Regions from separate parts of the Homo sapiens genome. Here region 1 is linked to region 2. Evidence: promoter capture Hi-C in human tissues and cell types (Jung and others, 2019). All regions are on one chromosome and are shown on one strand. The core of a region is centred on a gene start or on the middle of the fragment in contact, and the rest is flanking DNA. Distances in the headings are between cores, read along the strand shown.

Region 1 (6,478 bases), core at 2,339-4,838, 260 kb before region 2:
CAAGACCCTGTTTGTACAAAACAAAACAAAATATTCGTCAGGCATGGTGGCACATGCCTGCACTCCCAGCTGCTTGGGAGGCGGAGCGGGGAGGATTGCTTGAGCCCAGGGATTTGAGGTTATAGTGAGTTATGATCATGCTACTGTACTCCAGCCTGGGAGACAAGCAAGACCCATTTCAAATATAAATATATAAAGTAACTGGTGCTTTGGATTCAGACTTCTGGGTTCAAAACCAAGCTCTGCAACTTCAAGCTTTATGACCTTGGGCAAGGGACCTTATTCCTTTCTGCTTCAATTTCTCTAAGTGTAAAGCACAGATGGCAGTAACAACCCACAGACTCAGGGAAAGATTAAGTGAGTCAATACCTGTGAAGACTTAGAACAGTGTCTGGCACATAGAAGACACTAAATGAATCTTAGCTGTTGTTATTTATTAAAGATTTACAAACAGACCTGAGCTGTCCACTCAACAGCTCAATGACCTTGGGAAGTTATTTAACTTCACTGGGCTCAGTTTCCTCACCTATAAAATGGAAATTGATAATAATACCCACTTCATGAACTATCTCAAAGTCTTAAATAAAATAAAGCATGTGAGTAATAACACTGACAGCCAACACTGGCTGGCTGCTTAGTGTATGACATGCACTTCATGCACTACGAGGCAGATACCATCAGCGCTGGCTATCTCACTCCTTGGCCTGTGCTTGTTTTGTTTTGCTGAGACAGGCCCTTGCTCTGTAACCTGGGCTGGAGTGCAGGGGTACCATCATGGCTCACTGCAGCCTTGATCTCTTAGGCTCAAGTGATCCACCCACCTTGGCCTCCCAAAGTGCTGGGATTACAGGCATGAGACTCATTTCTCTACATCTGTTTACCTTTGCCCTATTAAATGCCAAGTGCTTTGACCGCACATGAATTAGTATGTTCCCTGCACCTCCTAACCAATGTCTGCCTTCTAAGCCCATGGTCTTTCCTGCCATGCTATAACATTAAGGACAAGTACACTATGCTGATTATTGTCATTATGAGACCATAGCTCCTAGAAAACCAGAGCTGGTCATCCTCATTTTCACACATCACCATTGGCCTCTGATTACTATGTCTCACACGTGACAGGCGCCCTATAAATGTTTCACGGCCTGTGCCCACGTCCTGCTAACCTATATTTTTTAAAAACAGGGGCTAATGGGGTGCAATTAATAAACACGTCCAATAATTATCAGGATGACGTCATTTCTCGGTCTGCACCTGAAGCTGTTCTCTAGAAGCTGCTTCCAGTTTCACCTTGGGAAGAGTAAGGTAACACAGGAGTGATTCTCACGCCTAGAGGAGGAAATTGAGACTCATGCGACTGCAGAATGTTCTTTTTATGACATCCCTTATCAACCGATGAACTCTTTCTCAATCTCATGGCGGGTCAATGTTCCACCGTGTCAGGCGTGGACATGGGAACAGATCACACAGGATTCCAAGTTCAACAGACAGAGCACCTGCACCTTTGGTCTCATACATCAGAGTTGGGAAGATGGGGAGAGTGCCAGAAGGTGCTGAATGCTCATGAGCTCCATGCGCCTCCCCTAAACCCAGAAACGCTACCCCCTCCAAGTACCTCTGGCTCCATTGTTCTCTGTAGGAAGCACTGAAGGAAATGCCTGTAAAAAGCTCCGACTTGTTGAAACTCACATGAAACTGATCCCAGAATGGGCCAAAGGGGTTTCCTTCCTGCAGAAAGAGAGTGGTGGAAGGCTTACTGATGGGGAGGGAAAGCCATTTGGGGATGGGGCCAGGGAAGTGTAGGTGGGGGAAGCTGGGTGATGTGACTCAGGCCAAAACACTCTCACAGGATGGCCTAGGAGAAATGTCACTCTGCAATTCCTAGGCCAGGGGCTGAGCAGAGTGCCGTGGCTTCAATTCTGGATTCCAGCAGGAGAGTCTTTCCTGTTCACATGTCACATCCTGCTGACCCAGCAGCACTGATGAGGGTCTGGGGAGAAGCAGACCTTGGATTTTGAACCAAGGACTAGAGCTTCAAGAGACATTCAAGATTGGCTAATCCAATGCCTTCATTTTCAAGGTGGAAACCAAGGCCCACTGAGGGTCAGACACTTACCCAAGGTTACACAGCCAGTAAGGGCACTGTTGGGGCTGTGAGCTAGGTCTCCTTTCTCAAATTTCATAGTTCTTCCAACCACTTTCCCAAGACTTTAGCACATACACCGAAAGACATACTTGGGGGTTTATTTCCAAAGTGCCAGAAATGTATAAATTTCTTTTAATAAGATATGACAGCCTCTCATTTACCTGCTGAGATGCAGGAAGGTATTCAAGTTAAGTGGGTAGACAATGGTGCCAAATTACCTAAGGTTGAATCCCAGCTCTACCACTTGTTTGCTGTGTGATCCTGGGTAAGACACTGACCCTCTCTGTGCCATCCTCGGTGTCCTCTCTATGAAGTGGGGATATTATAAGTATTTTCCTCATGGAACAGTGTGAGTATTAAATGAGTTGATACATGTAAAGCTCTTAGCGTGGTACCTGACATACATAGTAAGTGCTACATGAATATTAGTTATTATTACTGATGTGGCACTTTGCAGTTTACAAGCACTTTTTCACCTGGCCCTCATGACACTTTAGGAGTGAGACAGAGCAGGGACTGGCATCTCTATTTTGTAGGTAGAAATGAAGGTTCAGAGAAGCAAAGTCTTCTGCCCAAGGTGATGCAGCTTCGCTAACAAATGCCAGAAACAGGACTTAAATCTCCATCTTTCTATTCTAAGTCCTTCTGGTGCTTTTCCCCACATTTTGCCATGACATAGTCTTGGGGGCCTAGAGGACATGGAACAGGAAGAAAGGGCCCCCGAACCCACAGGACCCACCTTCATGGGGCACGTCTTCTTATCTGGGCTTCGCTGGGCTGCCACCTCAAAGCAGTATGCCACCCGCTTCTCAGGGGGCCAGTGGGTGGGTGCCAGCTTCTCCATGAAATCCTCCAAGCTGATGACCCGATGGTAAGCCTGGAGGGGCTCCAGCTTGAAGTACTTCTGGTAGGACACATGGAGCTACAGGAAAAGGAGGAGCAGAGGTCCCGTCTCAGTGCCCCCGTGGCTACTTTAGACATTTATTAAAACAATACACTCCAGGCCAGGTGCAGTGGCTCACGCCTGTAATCCCAGCACTTTGGGAGGATAAGGCGGGCGGATCACTTGAGGTCAGGAGTTCGAGACCAGCCTGGCCAACATGGTGAAACCCTGTCTTTACTAAAATACAAGAAAATTAGCTGGGGGTGGTAGCGAGCACCTGTAGTCCCAGCTACTGGGGAGACTGAGGTAGGAGAACTGCTTGAACCCAGGAGGTGGAGGTTGCTTGCAGTGAGCCAAGATTGTGCCACTGGACTCCAGCTTGGACGACAGAGCAAGACTCCGTCTCAAAAAAACAAAAACACTCCAAGACCAAGACAGTTCAGACTACATGACAATTAAAAGTTTTCATCAAAAGACGCCAAAGCTAGGATAGACAGGCTAGCAGGAGAGTCTGCAAACTAAAGAACAAACAGTAACATCCCTTGTGTTAAAAAACACCTGCTGATCTGTAACAAAAAAAGACAAATAATGCCAAGATAAAACACAGGCAAAGGTTAGGGGTAAACAATTCACAGCAAAGGAAACCCAAATAGCCAACACACTCAGAAGATGTCTAACCTCATTAGTAATTAGGAAAAAGCAAATTACAATTATAACGAGGCATCAATTACTTCTCACTCATGAGACTAGCAAAAACTGAAAAGCTTAACTTGTGGGGAAATGCGCACTCTTCTACACGGCCGGTAGCAGAAGTCTACATTTTGGAGCAACCAGTTTGGGATCCAATCGGTGAGTATCTAATAGAATTTAAAATGCTCCTTCTGGCCAGGTGTGGTAGCTCATGTCTGTAATCTCAGCACTTTGGGAGGCCGAGGTAGAAGGATCACTTGAGGCCAGGAGTTCAAGACCAGCCTAGACAACATAGCGAGACCCTGTCTCTACAAAAAATAAAAAAATTAGCTGGGCGTGGTGGTGCACATCTGTAGTCCCAGCTACTAGGGAGGCTGAGATGGAAGGATTTCTTGCATTCAGGAGGGTGAGGCTTCAGTGATGTGTGACTGTGCCACTGTACTCTAGCCTGGGCCACAGAGTGAGACTCTGTCTCAAAAAAAAAATTTTTTTTTTTTAATGTACCTTCCTCTTCTAACTATTTGCTCTAGAGAAGTACAGAAGTTCTTGCACTTTGGACCTGGAGATCAGTACCAGGATGCTCAGTGCCACAATGAAAGTATAGGAAGGAACATCAAAGGAGTCACACCAAATACACTATATCCACAACAGTTGTTAAGGGAACAGGGTTAGCCCCAGGGGCCAAAAAGAGACTTCATCTTTTACCAACTTTATCTGTAACGCTTTATTTCTTTTATTAACAAAAAGAGAAGATGAAACAAACATGAGAAAGTGTTAACAATTATCACTTCTAATGGTGGGTATATGGTTGGTGGTTGTATTCATCTGTGTAATTTTCTTTTTTTTTGAGATGGAGTCTCACCCTGTCACCCAGGCTGGAGTGCAATGGCGTGATCTCAGCTCACTGCAACCTCCCCCTCCCAGGTTCAAGCGATTCTCCTGCCTCAGCCTCCCGAGTAGCTGGGATTGCAGGCACGCACCACCACGCCGGCTAATTTTTTGTATCTATAGTAGAGATGGGGTTTCACCATTTTGGCCAGGCTGGTCTCAAACTCCTGACCTCGTGATCTGTCCACCTCGGTCTCCCAAAGTGCTGGGATTACAGGCGTGAGCCACTGCGCCCAGCCTCATCTTTATATTTTTCTACTTTTTTTTTTTTTTTGAGATGGAGTCTTGCTCTGTCTCCCAGGTTGGAGTGCAGTGGCGCGATCTCGGCTCACTGCAAACTTCGCCTCCCGGGTTCAAGCGATTCTTCTGCCTCAGCCTCCTGAATAGCTGGGATTACAGGCGGGCGCCACGACGCCCAGCTAACTTTTTTAGCAGAGATGGGGTTTCACCATGTTGGCCAGGCTGGTCTTGAACTTCTGACCTCAAGTGATTTGCCCGCCTCCCACTGCGCCTGGCATATTTTTCTAGATTTTAAAAAATTTCTGGCTGGGTGCGGTCACTTTCACCTATAATCCCAGTACTTTGGGAGGCTGAGGCGGATGGATCACCTGAGGTCAGGAGTTGGAGACCACTCTGGACAACATGGTGAAACCCCATCTCTACTAAAAATACAAAAATTAGCTAGGCATGGTGGTGGGCACCTGTAATCCCAGCTACTTGGGAGATCTGAGGCAGTAGAATCGCTTTAACCCAGGAGGTGGAGGTTGTGGTGAGCCAAGATCGTGCCACTGCACTCCAGCCCGGGTGACAAGAGCAAAACTCCGTCTTGGAAAAAAAAAAAAAATTCTGGCTGGGCGCAGTGGCTTTTGCCTGTAATCCTAAAACTTTGCAAGGCCAAGGCAGGTAGAATACTTGAGGCAGGGAGTTCGAGACCAACCTGGCCAACATGGCGAAACCTCGTCTTTACTAAAAATACAAAAAATTAGCTGGGTGTGGTGGCACATGCCTGTAGTCCCAGCTACTCAAGAGTAGAGGCACAAAAATCACTTGAACCCGGGAGGCAGAGGGTGCAGTGAGCCAAGATTCTGCCACTGCACTTCAGCCTAGGTGACAGAGCGAGACTCTTCATCAAAAATGAAAAACAAACAAAACCAAAAAAATTTCTACAGGGTGTGGTGGCTCATGTCTGTAATCCTAGCACTTTTGGAGGCTGAGGCAGGAGGACTGCTTAGACTCAGGAGTTTGAGACCAGCCTGGGAAACATAGCGAGACCTTGTCCCTACTAAAAATCAAAGAATTAGCCGGGTGTGATGGTGGGTGCCTGTAATCCCAGCTACTTGGAGGCTGAGGTGGAAGGACTGCTTGAGGAGATGGAGGCTGCAGTGAGCGATGATCATGCCACTGCACTTCACCCTGGGCAACAGTGAGACCTCGTCTCAAAAAAAAAAAGAAAAAAGAAACACAGGCCTGTAATTATGGAGGAGTCTGAGTCTGGGCCACAGATAAATTTGGGAGGTACACGGAGAAGAGTAAAAGCCACAGGAGTCAACAGATATTTATAGCAAAGCAAGTAATGGTAATAATAGCAACTAATATTTATTGCATGTTGACACAGTGCTAGGTACTGCACTCATCACTTTACATAGATTTGCACATTTAATCCTGAGGTAGGAATATAACCATCTCCAGGTTACTTATGAAGAAACCCAAGCATACAGAATCTAGATAACATCTGAGGTCACATAGCTAGTAAGCAAACAGAAAGAGGAGAAACACTAACATCTAAACAGTGGGTGGAGAGAAAGGAGCCCCTGATACAGTGGAAAGAGGAAAATGCTGAGAGGTTAGATTGTAGCAGGGACAGGTGGTGT
Region 2 (7,070 bases), core at 4,243-6,742:
GCTGGCCTCACTATAGAATATTTTGCAGCTATTAGAAAATAGAAAAGAGATCTAAATGTCAATCAAAGCTGTCCAAGAGCAATGCTGCGAAGCACTAGGTTTGTGTGCAATGCCCTCCACCTGCCTTCCTGTCCTACCATCTCACAATAGTCCTGTGGGTTTTCTCTGGGTTGACAGCTATGTCTTTAAATGCATATCACAGTTTTGAAAAGACACACCCAAACTGGGATACTAGAGGGAACTGAGAAGAGGGGGAGGGGGGTAAAAAAGAGCTTAGTCTTCTCTGTAATGTTTTGAGTTTCCGTAAGAAGAATCCATTTATAGAAATTAAAATGAATGAATTTGGTATTAAAAGGTAGTAGTAAAAACCAGCTCAAGGAGGGCTGGAATGTTCTGGGCTTGCACTCTCTTTGGGATCACTTAAGATTTTTCAAGTCAAGCCATGGGCCATCTGTTGCCTGGTGAAAATGGAGGCGTGGGGAGTTGGGAGACATGTCCCCACCTGGTGTCCCCATCTGGCTGCATGACCTTGGGAGGGTCCCATCCCCTTGCCTGACCTCAATGTCCTCATCTGCCCAGTGGGATTCAGATTTTTGTGTTACCCAGGGATGTGGGAGGATGAAGTGAGGGCGCGAGGAGAATCACATGAATGTAAGGGATTATTCTCGGGGTCGGGGAGGAGACAGGGTGGAAGCCTGTCTTCCACCCACCAAGCCCACAAGGGTGCAAAGGAAGTGGAGGGAGGAGCTAGGGACCACCCAGGCGAGCACACAGCCCATCTGCAGCATAGGAGCATGTTCTCAGCAGCTGGGAGGCCCAGCCAGAGCTGGTAGGGCAGCCACCCAGGCTGCTTGGAGAATCCGGACATTAAAGGGGTTCCTCTCACTGCTCTCTCAGTGCAGCTCCAGCCCTGTCACCTCCCCAAGCCCCCATTTTCACCCTCCTGTCCGCTCAACACATACACACGTATCTCAGAGGAATGCACTGCACTTGCCCCTCTTCACCCATCCTATCACCAGAGCCACAGGGGCTTTCACAAGGTAAACCCAATCATATCTGTGCCTGCTCAGCACCCTCCAGCAGCTTCCCAGCATATGAGAACAAACCCAATCCCCGTACTTTAGTGGATAAGGCATGATCCCAGCCCTCACCTTTAAGAATCTGGCCTCAGAGAGAATCTGCCTTAAGTAGAATTCTGACTCTGCTCATTAATTCATTCATTCAAAATTGTTTATCAAGCACCTACTGTGGGAGCCAGGCACTGTTCTAGACATTTGAGAGACATCAGTGAAGAAATGAATGAAAGATTCCTGCCCTCAAGGAGCCTCTCTTCTAGCAGAGGGAGATGAACAATAACCATAAGTAAATTATAAGGCATGCTGGGAGGTGACAAAAGTTATGATGAAAAGAAAGAAAAAGAAAAACTAGAGCAGAGGAAGTTGATCAGGAGTAGCAGGAGGGGCAGAAGTTGCATTTTAAACATGGTGGTCAGGGCAGGCTCCATTGAAAAGGTGCCATTTAAGAAAAGACTGGGCCAGACGTGGTGACTCATGCCTGTATTCTCAGCACTTCGGAAGGCCGAGGCAAGCAAATTACCTGAGGTCAGGAGTTTGAGACCAGCCTGGCCAATGTGGTGAGACCCCTGTCTTTACTAAAAAAATACAACAATTAGCTGAGCATGGTGGCACACACCTGTAATCCAAGCTATTCAGGAGGCTGAGGCAGGAGAATCACTTGAACCCAGGAGGTGGAGGTTGCAGTGAGCCAAGATTGTGCCACTGCACTCCAGCCTGGGTAACAGAGTGAGACTCCATCTTAAAAAAAAAAAAAAAAAAAGCTGGTAGATGGTGAGGGAAGGAACCATGTAGACATCAGGGAAAAGTGCAGGCAGAGGCAGCAGCCAGTGGAAAGACCCTGAGGCAGGACCACGCCTGGCTTGTGTGAGCAGCAGCAGGGAGGTGGGTGATGACCCAGAGAGGGGGACACTTTTCCAGTGAACAAGACAGACAAGGTCTCTGCCCTGGGGAGCTCATGATTACAAAGCAAGGTGTTTAGAGAACAAAGATGGTATGGGAAGTACAGAGACAAGGGAAGTCCAAAAAACTGTGGGGGCCCAGAGAGGACTCTTGACCCTCAGGAGGAGGTAACCCCAAGCTGAGCAGTGGGGGATATGGAATAGTGACACGTGAATAAAGGCATGGGAGAAAATTAATCCAGAACGATGGGGGAGTATGTGCAAAGGCCCTGAGAATCCCACCACTGGTCACCACCCCCACTGCTATCTCTTGGTGCAGTGGCCACCCTCTCCTGCCTAGATGATTATAGCAGCCTCCTCTTGGGTCTCTCACAGAGGGGCAAAGAAGCTAGAGTATACAGTCACTAACGACTCTCTTTTCTTGGTAGGAGTTCACACTCGTGGATATTAATTCACTGCATTCCCCTCTCAACCTGCATCCATGAGCAGAGAGAAGCAGGAAGCCACAGGCATACACAGCAGTGTCTGCAGGTGACCTCTGGGGAGGCCCTAGTGGATTTTGGGTGGGGCACTGCCAGCACCTTCCACAGCCCTGTGTGCTCAATGTCTCCTTCTCCTCTCTGTCCTACCCTCTCCCCCTCACTAATTCTATTCAAATACACTGGCTGTTCCCTCTGCCTGGAATGCTCTTCCCCTAGATATCCACAAGGCTCACCCCCTCATCTCCTCCACACTTCTGTTCAAATGCCATCTCCTCAAAGACACCCTCTCTGACCAGCTTATCTCAAATAGCCCCTCCATTATTCCACCTCCACCTTGTCCTGTGCTATCTTTTCTTTTCTTATCTTTTCTTTTCTCCTTCCTTCCTTCCCTCCTTTCTTCCTTCCTTCCTTCCTTCCTTCCTTTCTTTCTTTCTTTCCTTCTTTCTTTCTTTTTCTTTCTTTCTCTCTTTCTTTTCTTTTCTTTTTTAGAGAAAGGGTCTCACTCTGTCACCCAGGCTGGGTTACAGTGGCACGATTGTAGCTCACTGCAGCCTTGAACTCCTGTGCTCAAGTGATCCTCCCACCTCAGCCTCCTGAGTAGCTGAGACAACAGCCGCACACCACTACATCTGGCTAACTTTTTAATTTTTATTTTTTTGGTAGAGATGGGGGTCTTGCTATGTTTCCCAGGCTGGTCTCGAACTCCTGGGTTCAAGTGATTCTCCACTTTGGCCTCCCAAAGTATTGGGATTACAGGTGTGAGCCCCCACATCAAGCCGCTATTTTTTTGGTAGCACTTTTTACCACCTGACATATGATATATTTACTTGTTTTATGTTGATTGTTTCTCTCACCAGACTGGGAGATTCCTGAGAGCAGGGACCATGTCCAGTTTTGCTCATGGCAGAATCCCTATCACAGGGCCTGGGAAGTCAATACATAATTGTGAAATAAATGGCTCTGAAATTGAAATGCTCTCCGAGAGTCTTTCTGGGTCTGACCATTTCAAAGTCTTGGAAATGACTATGATTCCCCTCCCCAACATTTCCAGTGGCCAGGGGTGGCCTCTAAAGGCCAGTTACCGCCAAGAAGCTGCTAATGTGGGAGCCTCCCTCAGCCTCTCCCCATCCAGGCCCATGTGGTAGGGGTCAAGGGTCAACCTGGTCCAGCCCTCTGTGGGTCCCAAGGTGGAGGAGACGCAGTGCTGGGGTCCAGGCCGAGGGATGCCTGGTGAGCCCCATTTCTGCTTTGGCAAACATCCCCCTTTCCTTCTCAGGGCCTGTGCCTGCATTTCTGAACCAGAAGGTGTTTATACAAAACATCCTGGGTTTGGCGACAAATTCACCCTCAGTGAGGAATCCTTAATGAATCTCCCTCCTTCCCCACACCAGGTGGCTGAAGGAAAAATTAGCTCTGCCTCTGGTAGTTGAAGGCAGCCAATGGCTAGGCAACATAGAGGTGCTGCTGGGGCTTCTGGGGCCACAATTTTTGGGGAGGGTTTTTTCAGGGTCCGGAAATGGCATGGACACCAGGCACTCCTGGCTTGCTGTGTGATGAGGCACTGCCTTTCTCCTGGCCTCAGTCTGCAGCTGTGAAATGGGGCAGTAATAATCCCATCCATACAAAGGTTGCTTTGACACTCAAGTAAGGCAAGGGGTGTGAAGGGGCTTGGTTACAAGAGGTCAAAAGGAGAGAATAAAACGCTGGAATCAGGGAGGCGAGACATCAGAGTGATAATATCGGTTCTGCTCTTTAGACTTTCAAAGTCCTTTCCCAGCGCCTTTTACAGCCATGTGGGCTCAATGCCTCCTTCCCTCTGACCTCCTGCCTGCTTCCCCCCCGCCCATTCTGTTCCACATACGCTGGCTGTTCCCTCTGCCTGGAACACTCTTCTCCTAGGCATCCACATGGCTCACCCCTCACCTTCTTTTCAAAGCCTTGCCTCTCTCTGAGGTTTGTTTTTTCCAGCTATCCAATGAGGAGTTTGGGCGTGAAGACCTCGTGGGAACCCTCTGGTTCTGATGGTAACCATTTTCCACCTGCCTGCCTTCTCTGGGAAGTCCTCCCAATCCTACCACCCACACCCACCTGCTTTTCTGAGCTAGCACTTCATTGCTTACTGCCCATAGTTTTCAAGTCCCTTCCTTATGTATAGGCCAGCTACTCTGGACATTGGGCCCAACACAGGGGCTCAAGTGAACTCTGGTTAAACGGAATTAAAAGTGATTACTGCTTCCTTTGTTTTTTGAGACAGAGTCTCGTTTTGTCACCCGGGCTGGAGTGCAGTGGTGCCATCATAGCTCAGGGCAGCCTCGACTCCCCAGATGCAGGTGCTCCTCCCGCCTCAGCCTCCTGAGTAGCTGGGACCAACGGGCGCGCCCCCCCTCACCCAGCTAATTTTTTTTTTTTGTATTTTTAGTAGAAACGGAGGTTTTACTGTGTTGCCCAAGCTGGTCTCGAACTCCTGGGCTCAAGTGATCCCCCCGCTTTGGCCTTCCAAAGTACTGGGATTACAGGCATGAGCCACTGCGCCCAGCTGATTCCTGCTTCCTTCCGATCCTGTGGAGAGACACTGAGGCGGATTTTTATTCACCCCCTTTTTATAAATTAGAAACTGAAAGTGTCAGAGATTAAACATAAGTCACACTGCCACATGGGCCTTCTTGGTGTTTCTTAGCCAGGGGAAGAATAATATTTCCCAGATCCTAATCACTACCTGCCACGGTATATAATTGTTTTGCCATTAATTGTCGGTGTTTCCCACTAGGATGAAGTTCCATGAGGGCAGGGATTTTGTTGTGTTCACTGCTGCATCCTAAGCACATAAAACTGCTTGGCACATAATAAGTGCTCAAGAAGCATGAACCGAGGGAGTAACGGGTCAGAGGCAGCCCGAGGACTGAGCTCTCTGAGCCTGCAGAGGGCGCTCCAGCCCCGCCCCCAAAGCTAGGCCCCGCCTCTCGCAGCCGGCTGGCGCACTAGTGTTAGAGCCTGCGCACCACCGTTCTTTTAACTGCGCAGGCGCGCCGGAAGCACCTAGAGAGCGGCGCGTGCGCAGCGGGAGTCGAAGCGGAGATCCCGGGGTCGCGCGAGAGCCGCAAGCGGAGTTGGTGGGCGCTATGCTATCACCCGAGGCAGAGCGAGTGCTGCGGTACCTTGTAGAAGTGGAGGAGCTCGCCGAGGAGGTGCTGGCGGACAAGCGGCAGGTGAGAGGCCCCTCCGCGGCGCTGGGGCCTGGCGGCCGGCGCCGTGGGAAAGCGCGCGGGGTCGCAGTGAGTTGACCTGGACAGGCGGTTAACGGCTCCGAGGCGACAGACCTGGGCCGATAAATATTCGGCCGCTACTAAGTGAGCGCCTGCGCTATGCTGGACATTCCTCTCTCTTCATCCTTTCTCTGCCCCTTGCCATGCTCTGTGGATCTCGACCCATCATGCTCTGGGCCGTTTCCCTGAGCACCTGTTTCAAAATGCACTTCCCGGCCCCATGGTTGATCTAGGGGCACCGCCCTGTAAAGGCCCTCAGGGGAGAGCTGGAACCGAAAAGAAGCCTGAGGGGGCCTTGTGACCGGGCAGGGGTGGGGACGTGGGGGAAGGTGGCGCCCTGTTTATGGGGTGTCTTGTTTTAAGTGCCAAGTTTTTGAGGGGAGTTCCTGGGGGAAGGAGGGTGACGTAATTGGATTTAGGTTTTAAAAGGATCCCCCCTGGCTGCTGTGTGGAATACAGAATATAGGTGGGCAAGGGCGGAGGCAGGGAGATGGGTGAGGGGCCATTGGTATGGTCCAGACCAGAGATGGATTTGGACTAGGTAGTGGTGGTGGAGAGAAGTGAAGGGGTCAGAAATGTATTTTGGAGACAGACTCAGTAGGCCGTGGTAGTGGAGCCGGGGGAGTCGTGACTCCCTCTCATCTCCAGTTAGAAGGGTCAGGTATTTACTGAGAAGGGGAAAACTTGGGCAAGATCCTGTCAAATTAAGTACTGGATCAGGGTGTGCTGGATGAGAATAAGAGCAGTTAAAGTTTATCAGCTACTTACTATGTGCCAGGTACTGTGTTAAGTCATTTAATTGCTGGCTCAATAACCTGTAAGGTAGGTACTGTCCGTAGCTCCATTTTGAGGAGGAGTAAATAGGAAGGTGAAATTACACAGCTTGAGGCAGATAGCAGGATTCGAACCTGGGTATTCCAAATCCAGAACCAGCACTCGTGCAGTATACTGTACTACTGCGTCACTTCCTTAGTAGCTATTGTGTTGTTACCACTGTCTCAGTGCCCCCAATCCTGCTGTTCCAATCTAGTATTGTTGGGTTTCTCATATTACTAGTTCAGAATCAGCTGGAGAAGTTTGTCCAAAAATAAACATTAGGCCTGCTTAATCACAGTGTGTAGGGGAAGGGTTTCCACTCCCCTGGTGATTCTGATATGCCCTAAAGTTCGAGTGGATAATGCAGAATTTCCCATTTAGTCAGCACATGTTTTCTCAGCATCTTTTCTGGGGAGAGGGCAGCTGCACAAAGCATTGTCTTTAAGACCAGGAAGCTGAGTGAGAGAAGAAATACATTCACACATCAATCCATTTTAGGCAGGACGTTGAATGTAATCAGGAATAATGCATTGC

What was found. The method cuts DNA at HindIII sites, captures the fragments that hold promoters and counts their contacts. A contact is called where the count stands out against the background at its distance.
Region 1: a fragment that was not itself captured here is called in contact with the fragment with the promoter of PDRG1 in region 2 in 1 of the 25 tissues and cell types used here (mesenchymal stem cells).

What each region holds. Positions count from the first base shown.
Region 1 is chr20:32,211,859-32,218,336 of GRCh38, reverse strand. POFUT1 (protein O-fucosyltransferase 1) reads right to left here. Exons shown (of 7, transcript NM_015352.2): 3 at 2,886-3,068; 4 at 1,616-1,728. Among named protein-coding and RNA genes, the nearest start is that of POFUT1, 7.2 kb to the right of the region's middle. The HindIII fragment of the contact is 3,127 bases long and covers 2,025-5,151 here.
Region 2 is chr20:31,950,468-31,957,537 of GRCh38, reverse strand. It overlaps PDRG1 (p53 and DNA damage regulated 1), which reads left to right and starts at 5,492. Exons shown (of 5, transcript NM_030815.3): 1 at 5,492-5,663. The coding sequence starts at 5,577. The HindIII fragment of the contact is 6,454 bases long and covers 3,761-7,070 here.